Linked DNA regions of Homo sapiens: region 1 is linked to region 2. Evidence: promoter capture Hi-C in 16 types of primary human blood cells and fetal thymus (Javierre and others, 2016). All regions are on one chromosome and are shown on one strand. Each heading gives the region's core, a stretch centred on a gene start or on the middle of the fragment in contact. The rest is flanking DNA. Distances are from core to core; before and after follow the strand shown.

The links. Contacts are between HindIII fragments. The CHiCAGO score rates a contact against its expected background, and 5 or more counts as called.
Region 1: a fragment that was not itself captured here is called in contact with the fragment with the promoter of SNAI1 in region 2 in 17 of 17 cell types (endothelial precursors, naive B cells, activated CD4 T cells and 14 more); the score reaches 21.4 in endothelial precursors.

The regions. Positions count from the first base shown.
Region 1 is chr20:50,174,811-50,179,716 of GRCh38, forward strand. It overlaps LINC01273 (long intergenic non-protein coding RNA 1273), which reads left to right. Exons shown (of 3, transcript NR_109943.1): 3 at 1,471-1,861. Among named protein-coding and RNA genes, the nearest start is that of LINC01273, 4.7 kb to the left of the region's middle. RefSeq lists an enhancer at 4,360-4,859. The HindIII fragment of the contact is 1,121 bases long and covers 3,010-4,130 here.
Region 2 is chr20:49,980,468-49,985,292 of GRCh38, forward strand. It overlaps SNAI1 (snail family transcriptional repressor 1), which reads left to right and starts at 2,513. Exons shown (of 3, transcript NM_005985.4): 1 at 2,513-2,674; 2 at 3,357-3,884. The coding sequence starts at 2,593. RefSeq lists an enhancer at 918-1,855 and a silencer at 2,008-2,527. The HindIII fragment of the contact is 8,892 bases long and covers 1-4,825 here.

The DNA.
Region 1 (4,906 bases), core at 2,320-4,819, 200 kb after region 2:
ACAGGCTGGTCAGTCTAGACAATTTTAAATTAAATATGTAACTCACATTAACAGGTCACATTATTTATTTATTTATTTATTTATTTATTGACACAGGGTCTCGCTCTGTTGTCCAAGCTGGAGTACAGTGGCACAATTTCGGCTCACAGCAACCTCTGCCTCCCGGGTTCAAGCGATTCCCCTGTCTCCGCCTCCCGAGTAGCTGGGATTACAGGCGCCCACCACCACGCCCGGCTAATTTTTGTATTTTTAGTAGGGACAGGGTTTCACCATGTTGGCCAGGCTGGTCTTGAACTCCTGGCCTCGTGATCCACCCGCCTTGGCCTCTCAAAGTGCTGGGATTACAGGCATGAGCCACCATGCCCAACCGCAGACATCTTTTTGTTTTGTTTTTTTTTCTTTTTTTTTTTCTTTGGAGATGGTGTCTCGCTCTGTTGCCCAGGAGGGAGTGCAGTGGCATGATACCTGCTCACTATAGCCTCGAACTCCTGGATTCAAGCGATCCTCCCACCTCAGCCTCCTGAGTAGCTGGGCCTACAAATGTGCAACACCACGCCTGGCTAATTAAAAAGGTGACAGAGAGACCCTGTCTCAAAAAGCAAACAAACAAAAAACGACACATGTGCGTGTGTGTGTGTGTGTGTGTGTGTCTGTGGAGAGAGAGAGAGAGAAAGAAGGAGAATATGATACATCAAATGTAGTAAAATGAAAACATTTGGGAAATATTTGAAGTATTTGTAACTTTTCTCTAAGTCTGAAAGTATTTCAAAATTAAAAAAAAATTTAAAAGGTGAATAGTGCCAGGTGTGTTGGTGCACGCCTGAAATCCCAGCACTTTGGGAGGCCAAGGCAGGTAGATCACCTGAGGTCAGGAGTTCGAGACCAGCCTGGCCAACATGGAGAAACTCCGTGTCTACTAAAAATACAAAAATTAGCCAGGCATGGTGGTGGGCACTTGTAGTCCCAGCTACTCGGGAGGCTGAGGCACGAGAATTGCTTGAATCTAGGAGGTGGAGGTTGCAGTGAGCTGAGATTGCACCACTGCACTCCAGCCTGGGCGACAGAGCAAGACTCTGTCTCAAAAAAAAAAAAAAAAAAAAATGGTGAATAGTACCAAGCGGTGGTGGAAGATATGGGATATAAAACCCTTGGGCACAGCTGGTGTGAGTGGAGACGGGACAGCCTTTCTGTAGAGCACCTGGTACTTAGTCAAATTAGTCCCCCCATCCCCTACAACCTACTCTCAAGCCAAAGTCCCAGAGACATCCTCACACCAGCCCTAGAGGGTGCAAGGAGGTGGCAGCTCACCTTATCTGTGGTGGGGCAGGTTGGGGGTCACTTGGGTGTCTACCCCAGGGACTGGGCGGCTGAGACTGGGGACTGCTCATAGAAAGGACCGTGGATGAGCCACAGCTACAAAACCCTTCACACAAGTGTTCATGCCACAAAGTAGCCACATGTGTTTTGCAGGGACACATTCCAGCAAAAAGACACAAAGTGACAGAATGGCTGCCTTTGAGTGGGGGTGAGAAGAGGTGGATGGCAGGTACCAGAAGAGAAGGGAATAAATATATGAAGAAATACAACCCCCTCGGGCAGTGCCTGGCACAGCATAAATGCCCAGGAAAAAGAGGCCCAGTTGCTTACGTTCCCGGCGACAGGGCCGGGACCAGCGCCGGCTTCCTGGTGAAGGAGGCCACCCTTTCCTCTTGAGGGGTCTGAGTATGCATGTCAGCACCCGGTGGGCACCCAGCACCCAGCTGACCAGGGGCCTTCACCTCTGTGGGGGTTACCGGCCTGGCCCTGAGAACTGGATGAAAGCTGGAATAATTCTTTCTGTAATAAAGCAAACGCAACCACGTTCAACCTTTCCCTTCATTTCAGAGGCTTCCCGCACCTGATGCCTCCCACAGCCTCAGGCTGAGTCCCCAGGTGCTCCAGTGGGGGTGGCAAAGCTGAGCACTGAGTTGGTTTCCATAGTTTTCATCATTAAAATGTTTAAATGACTAGGCCGAGCACAGTGGCTTCTCAGCATTTTGGGAAGCCGAGGTAGGCAGATCGCTTGAGCCCATGAGTTTGAGACCAGCCTGGGAAACATGGCAAAATCCTGTCTCTACAAAATGCAAAAAAATTAGCCAGGTGTGGTGGTGTGTGCCTGTAGTCCCAGCTACTTGGGAGGCTGAAATGTGAGGATTGCTTGAGCCTGGGGAGGCTGAGATTGCAGTGAGCCGTGATTGTGCCACTGCACTCTAGCCTGGGTGACAGAGTGGCAGACCCTGTCTCCAAAAAAAAAAAAAAAAAAATTAGCCTGGCATGGTGGTGCGTGCCTGTGGTCCCAGCTACTTGGGAGGCAGAGGAGGGAAGGGCACCTGAGTCTGGGGGTGTTGAGGCTGCAGTGAGCTGTGATGGTGCCGACGTACTTGAGCCTGGGCTACAGAGATCTTATCTAAAGAAAAGCCTAAATGAATGTGTGGTGAGGAGCAGGCTTGAGTTATTTTCATGATGAGCTCCTCAGGATAGATTCTCAAAAGTGGCATTGGTGGGGCTCTACCTCTGTTTATTCATTAATCTGTTTTATTTTTATATTTATTTATTTATTTCAGTTATTTTTTTGAGATGGAGTTTCACTCTGTCACCCAGGCTGGAGTGCAGTGGCACGATCTCGGTTCACTGCAACATCCCTCTCCCAGGTTCAAGCAATTCTCCTACCTCAGCCTCACAAGTAACTGGGATTACAGGCGTGCGCCACCACATTCAGCTAATTTTTAGTAGAGACGCAGTTTCACCATGTTGGCCAGGCTGGTCTTGAACTCCTGACCTCAAGTGATCCACCCGCCTTGGCCTCCCAAAGTGCTGGGATTACAGGTGGCAGTCACCATGGCTGGCTTGTTTTATTTTTAACATTTAATTGGGTAAGCTGCAGATACCCCTCAAGATGTCAGTGTGCATGTCAAGATGTCAGTGTGCACGTCATTAACTAGAGTCAAATATTTGTTTCTCTGTCTGTAAAGCTTACATTTGGTGAACTGCACCTTTAGGTGTACTTTTGATTATTATTATTATTTTTTTGAGATGGAGTTTTGCTCTGTCACCAAGGCTGAGTCTAGTGTTGCGATCTCTGCTCACTGCAACCTCTGCCTCCAGGGTTCAAGTGATTCTTCTGCCTCAGCCTCCTGAGCAGTTGGGATTACAGGCGCCTGCCACTGCACCAGGCTAATTTTTGTATTTTTAGTAGAGATGGGGTTTCACCATGTTGGCCAGGCTGGTCTTGAGCTCCTGACCTCAAGTGATTCACCCGCCCCAGCCTCCCAAAGTGCTGGGATTACAGGGGTGAGCCACTGCGCCCAGCCACTTTTGATTACTTTTGACAAATGCATCCACCTGCACTGCCCAAACTCCCTCCAAGATGTTAAACATGCAGTGGGTTGAATTGTGTCCCCCAAGAAGATATGTTCAAGTCCTAACCCCTGGGACCTGTGAATGTGACCTTATTTGGAAATAGGGGCTTGCAGATGAACCCAACTTAAGATGAGATCATTCTGGATTGTGGGGGCTCTAAATCCAATGACTGGTGTTTATATAAGAGAAAGGAGAGGGAGATTTGGAGGTGAACACACAGAGGGAAGAAGGCACTGGAAGAAGGCCGTTGGAAGATTAAGGCAGAGATTGGGGTGAGGCAGCTAGAGCCAAGGAACATGGTGGATGGCGGGCAAGCACCATGGAAGAGGCAAGGAGGGATTCTTCCCCAGAGCCTCCAGAGGGAGCAGGACCCTGGTTTCAGGGGAGAATAAATTTCTGTTGTTTTGGGTTTGTGGTATCTTATCATGGCGGCCTTAGGAAACTCACACGAAACACACACCATCACCCCAGCGAGCACCCTTGTCCCCTCCTCAGTTGTGCTCTCCCCCAACTGGCAACCACCGTGCTGATATTTTCCTCATGGGTGAGTTCTGCCTGTTCTAGAGCTCTAAACAGATGGGATCACACAGGAAGTTCTTGGCATCTGGCATCTTTCACTCAAACAAGATTTCAGAGATTGTTGCAGCTATCAGTGCTGGCACGCCTATAATTAAAGTCCATTTACTTGAAGAGGAAGTAAATTTTGAATTTGAGGAGGGGAGTAGGCAGTAAGCTTTCTTTTTTTTTTTTTTTTTGAGACCGAGTTTCACTCTTTTTGCCCAGGCTGGAGTGCAATGGTGCGATCTCGGCTCACCGCAACCTCTGCCTCCCGGGTTCAAGCGATTCTCCTGCCTCAGCCTCCCAAGTAGCTGGGATTATAGGCATGCACCACCACACCGGGCTAATTTTTGTATTTTTAATATTTTTGTATTTTGTATTTTTAGTAGAGACGGGGGTTTCACCATGTTGGTCAGGCTGGTCTCGAACTCCTGACCTCAGGTGATCTGCCCGCCTGGGCCTCCCAAAATGCTGGGATTACAGGCGTGAGCCACCGCGCCTGGCCTGTAAGCTTTCTCTTTAAAGCTGGGCTTGAGGCCCCCTCTCCCGGGGGTCTCTGGCCCTCAGGAACCCCAGTCTGAAGCTGTTTCCCAGTTCAGAGGTTGCAGAGATCGGAGGCGGGGCTCCCGCGCCACCTTGTGGCCATTCTAGGCAGCGCAACCCATGATGCCTGTGGCGGGGCGTGGGGGTGGGGTGGGGTGGGTTGGGGAAGGTGGGTTGGGCAAATGTGTATTTTCCTGGTTTGGGCCCTCAAGTCACTGAGCACCTACTCAGCACCTGCATGATTCCACTGTATGTGTGTGTGGACAGAGATGACCAAGATTGCGCAGACCCTAGAGGGGTTCCCAGGAGAGGGAGACTACACAACACTAACTCCAGTAGGGTGGATGGAGTGAGGCCCAGAGGCCTGAAGTCCAGCTGGAGCCTGGAGGAGGGGAGAGTAACGGAC
Region 2 (4,825 bases), core at 1,263-3,762:
CATTTTTATTGCTGTATAGTATTCTATTACAGGATTGCACCAGGGTTCATTAATCCAGTCTACTGTTTATAAACATTTGTGTTGTATCCAGTTTTGTTTTAGTTTTTGCTTTTTTTGCTATTAGGAACGAGGGTACAATGAATATCCTTTTTTGTTTTTTCGGGGTTTGGGCTGGACAACAGTTCTTTACTTTGCTTGGTTGCTCATTATAATCCCCAGGGGAGTTTTTTAAAATGCTGATGCCAGAGGCCCCACCCAGACTAATTAAATCAAGATGTGGGTGGGGGTGGGGTGGGCCGAGGCTTAGGTGTTTTAATCCTTCCCTGTGGGGATCTAATGTGCTGCCAGAGCTGAGAACCCCTGGGATGCAGTTGGTTTGAGGACAGACTTGTCAGCTGCAGCCCCTGGGATGCAGTTGGCTTGAGGACAGACAGGGAGAGGAGTCACCTGTTGCTAGCTGATGCCAAACTTTTCCAAAGTGACTATGCCCACCGACCCTCTCGCCAGCTCTCACCTCCTCATCAACTCTTGATAGTGACCAAATTTTTCCTTGTTGTCCTTCTGATGGGCGTGAAATGGCAGCTCACTGTGGCTTGAATTTGCCATTTCTCTCTTCACTAAACGAGGCTGAGCAGTTAGTGAAGTTGCTGCTGAAACAAAGAATGAAAGGAAGCCAGCGTGAAGATCTAGGAGCAAGAGACGTAGGGGAGAGGAGGAAGAGCAGCAGGTGCCAAGGTGGGAAAGGTCTGGGATGTTGGAGGAACAGAAGGAAGGCTGGGGGTGGGATCCTTGTGCATGGGGGAGGGAGAGAGGCTCAAGCCAATGTCAGCTGGGGTCAGAGCAGCGGGGCCGAGTTGGCTGAGGAGAGGACTTTGGCTTTTACTCTGAGACAGGCGCATGGGAGGGTTTGAGCAGAGGAGGGGGTGATCTGGCCTCACTTTGGCTTCAAGCAAAGGATCCTGATTGGAGCTAAATTGACACGGGACGGGGAGTATTCCGCTTAATGACTGCTTACTGCCTCTGTCCCCCACCCTACTGCCCGCTCTCCAGCTAGAACCAGGGGAGGACGATTTTGTTCACGGCTGTCACACCCGGCACCAAGTGACTAAACAGACAGTAGTTCTGCCCTTCAGGTTGGTGGTGGTGGTGGTGTGGGGTGCTTATAGGTTTTTATAGTCTTCCTTCACAGGTGGAAACAAGAACGGTGAGACCTGTGAGGTTTATTTCAGAGCCACCCCCGGGCCTGGTACGCCTCCCAGGGAAGCTGGGGTGGGGGTGCAGCTGCCCCTCACTTGGGCCCACCCCACATGCATTCAGTCAGGGCCCCTATGGAGCCGTGTTACAGCCTTTAGACACAGGATCGAGGATCTTCACGGGGTGAGGAGACACGCCCGGCCCATGCCTTCTTTCTCCCGCCAGCCTACAGGGATCTTTTTCAACGAAACTCTAACCAGGTCCCTCCTCAGCTGAAAATCCTTCGGTGGCTCCCCAGTGCCCTTGAGGCAAAGTCCAAACTCCTACGAGGCCCTGGGGCCCAGCACATCTGACCCCTCCGGGCATGCCCATCCCACCCCATCCCTGGAAGCTGCTCTCTAGGAGTTACTCTGAAGCAGTTGCCACTTCTTCCCTCGGGCCTTTTCCCTTGATAATTCTTCACTTCCTCTGGGAAGTCACCCCGACCCCCTGTCAGGTGACCCGCCTCTTAACGGTCGCCGCGTCCCGTCTCTCCCCCACCAAAGCACACTTCCCTTTGCATTGTAATTATCTGTTTACTTCGTCTGTCTCCCTCACTGGACCAGAAGCTACCCTTCGGGAGAGGCTCTGAGTGTTCTGTCCGGGGCTGTGCCCTGGCCCCAGGTACAGTGCCCCACACGTGCTGGGCGCTCCGTAAACACTGGATAAGGGAAGGAACGGGTGCTCTTGGCTAGCTGGGCCAGGCTGCTTTGCAAAAAGGCCGTGGCATTTCAAGCCGCCGAGAGCCACGTGCGGTGTCCCTTTCCTCGCTTCCTCCCCAGTGATGTGCGTTTCCCTCGTCAATGCCACGCTCTCCAGGCGCCAGCCGGGCGGAGGAAATTTCCGCCCCCTCCCAAGCCCGAGGCGGGGGCGGGCGTCGGAAGGTCAGGTGTCCCGGCCGGCGCGCAGCGCCAGGGGGCGTCAGAAGCGCTCAGACCACCGGGCGCTGAGCCGGTGGGCGCGCGGCGTCCTGCCGGGGTCCCACCTCGCAGAGGCCTCGCTTCGCTCGACGTCCCGCCCCGGACAGCCCCAGCACCGGGGACGACCCGCGCTGCGCCAGCGAACCCCGCCTCGGAGGAGTCCCCGCCCGGGCTCTCACCGCCACGCGGCGCGAGCCCGGCCAGCAGCCGGCGCACCTGCTCGGGGAGTGGCCTTCGGCGGAGACGAGCCTCCGATTGGCGCGGAGGTGACAAAGGGGCGTGGCAGATAAGGCCCCGCCCCTCCCACCCCCCACCACCCCCCCGGAGTACTTAAGGGAGTTGGCGGCGCTGCTGCATTCATTGCGCCGCGGCACGGCCTAGCGAGTGGTTCTTCTGCGCTACTGCTGCGCGAATCGGCGACCCCAGTGCCTCGACCACTATGCCGCGCTCTTTCCTCGTCAGGAAGCCCTCCGACCCCAATCGGAAGCCTAACTACAGCGAGCTGCAGGACTCTAATCCAGGTGCGTTGGAGGGGTTCTGGGCTCCAGGAGGTTTGGGGGAGACAGGCGAAGGCTGCGTGGGGGGCACCTGAGGGAGGCGGCCTGCCTGAGCCAGGATCGAGTCACAGGATGTTTTGTGGACCATTGCGGGCTCGGGAGACCGGGCAAGTGGGTCCCCAGTTCCGGGGATCTGTCTGGGTGGTTGGGGGAGTGCCGTGTAGAGGGCAGGGGTCTTCAGCTTGGGGGGCCTTTGTAGCCGGCGAGAGGCGGAGGAGCTCCGCAAGAGGGGAAGGAGAGGAGGCCTGTGTCAGGAGGGCCCTCTGGACGCTGCTGGGGAGAGTCCGGAGTCCAGAGGGTTGAGGGGAGGGGTGGGGAGACGAGATGTGTGTGAGGAGGGGGATTGGGGCAGGGTGGTGGCTCCGGGGCTGGGATGATGGGGTTCTGGCCTCAGGCTGGAGACTGGGGACTTAGGAGAGGGAGATCAGGAAATGACCTCCTTCAACTGGGGGTCCTACGTGTGAGAGACTCAGATTGGGTGACCTGGGCGAGGAGGGCAGGAACCTGGTCTGTCCTGTGGATAATTTTTTTGATCTAATTATGTATTGAGAATCGGCCCCACCCAGCCCCTGGCCAGCGGTGGGCTCATGTTTGTTGATTGAGTGAATGATTTAATTAACGCCTGACTCTGCTTTTTCTCCCTCAGAGTTTACCTTCCAGCAGCCCTACGACCAGGCCCACCTGCTGGCAGCCATCCCACCTCCGGAGATCCTCAACCCCACCGCCTCGCTGCCAATGCTCATCTGGGACTCTGTCCTGGCGCCCCAAGCCCAGCCAATTGCCTGGGCCTCCCTTCGGCTCCAGGAGAGTCCCAGGGTGGCAGAGCTGACCTCCCTGTCAGATGAGGACAGTGGGAAAGGCTCCCAGCCCCCCAGCCCACCCTCACCGGCTCCTTCGTCCTTCTCCTCTACTTCAGTCTCTTCCTTGGAGGCCGAGGCCTATGCTGCCTTCCCAGGCTTGGGCCAAGTGCCCAAGCAGCTGGCCCAGCTCTCTGAGGCCAAGGATCTCCAGGCTCGAAAGGCCTTCAACTGCAAATACTGCAACAAGGAATACCTCAGCCTGGGTGCCCTCAAGATGCACATCCGAAGCCACACGCTGCCCTGCGTCTGCGGAACCTGCGGGAAGGCCTTCTCTAGGCCCTGGCTGCTACAAGGCCATGTCCGGACCCACACTGGTACGTGCCCCTCCAGGCGCCCCCACCGTTGCTCTCTCTGGCAGCTTTTGTGAATCTGGGCTTGCTGTTCTCATTCCCAAAGCTGTGGACACTGAGGCCCCGAGTCTTCTAACTTCTAGCTCAAGTTCCAGGGCCTGGCTCTCTGGAAACGTTTGGCAGAAACTTTCTTCATCAGCTAAGCAGATGGGCAAAGCAGACACCTTCCCAATCCCCTGCAGCCTGTTTCTCAGCCAAATGGGTCGGAGCTGGATATGGGAAAGGTGCAACCAACACCTTGCTGTGGGGGCCAGGTGTGAAGGGGCCCACCCGGCCACACCCTCTCCCGGGTCCGCCCCCTCCCTAGCCAGACAGGATGTTGTCAGACCCCCCGCCTGGCTCTGAATCCTTCTTTGAGAACTTTCTCAAAACTTAGGCTGATGTTTCTCTTCTGTGAGCCTCATTTTCTCTATCTTTCAGATGGGCATGAGAACAGCTTTTGGGGTTTCTATACAGGCTAAATGCAGGAATGCATATGGGAAGCACCTGGCAAAGTGCCGGTACCTGCTAAACTCTCACAAAAATGGTTCCTTGGCATTTGCTCTGCTTCCTTGCTGTGTGACTTTGGGCAAGCAACTTAACCTCTCTGAGCCTTAGGGGAAAACTATGATAGCATATGTTTTAGAGAGTGGCTGTAAAGGTGGCTAATCACTTTATAGTAATTTATTATACCCGAACGGTTCTCAGGTCGGCTTCCCCACCCCCACTGAATCCTAGCACACAGACCAGGAAACGGCATCTTTGGGGCAGAAAACACAATCACGTCTTTTGAAAATTTACTAAATGTGTAAAAAACTTTCTGGACATGGAGAAAAGGTAGAACTTTTTAGAACTTGAATGGTGGCAGCCACTGTGCCTGGAGCTGCTCTTTGGAGAGTGACAGTTGAGGGAGAAGATTCCACAGG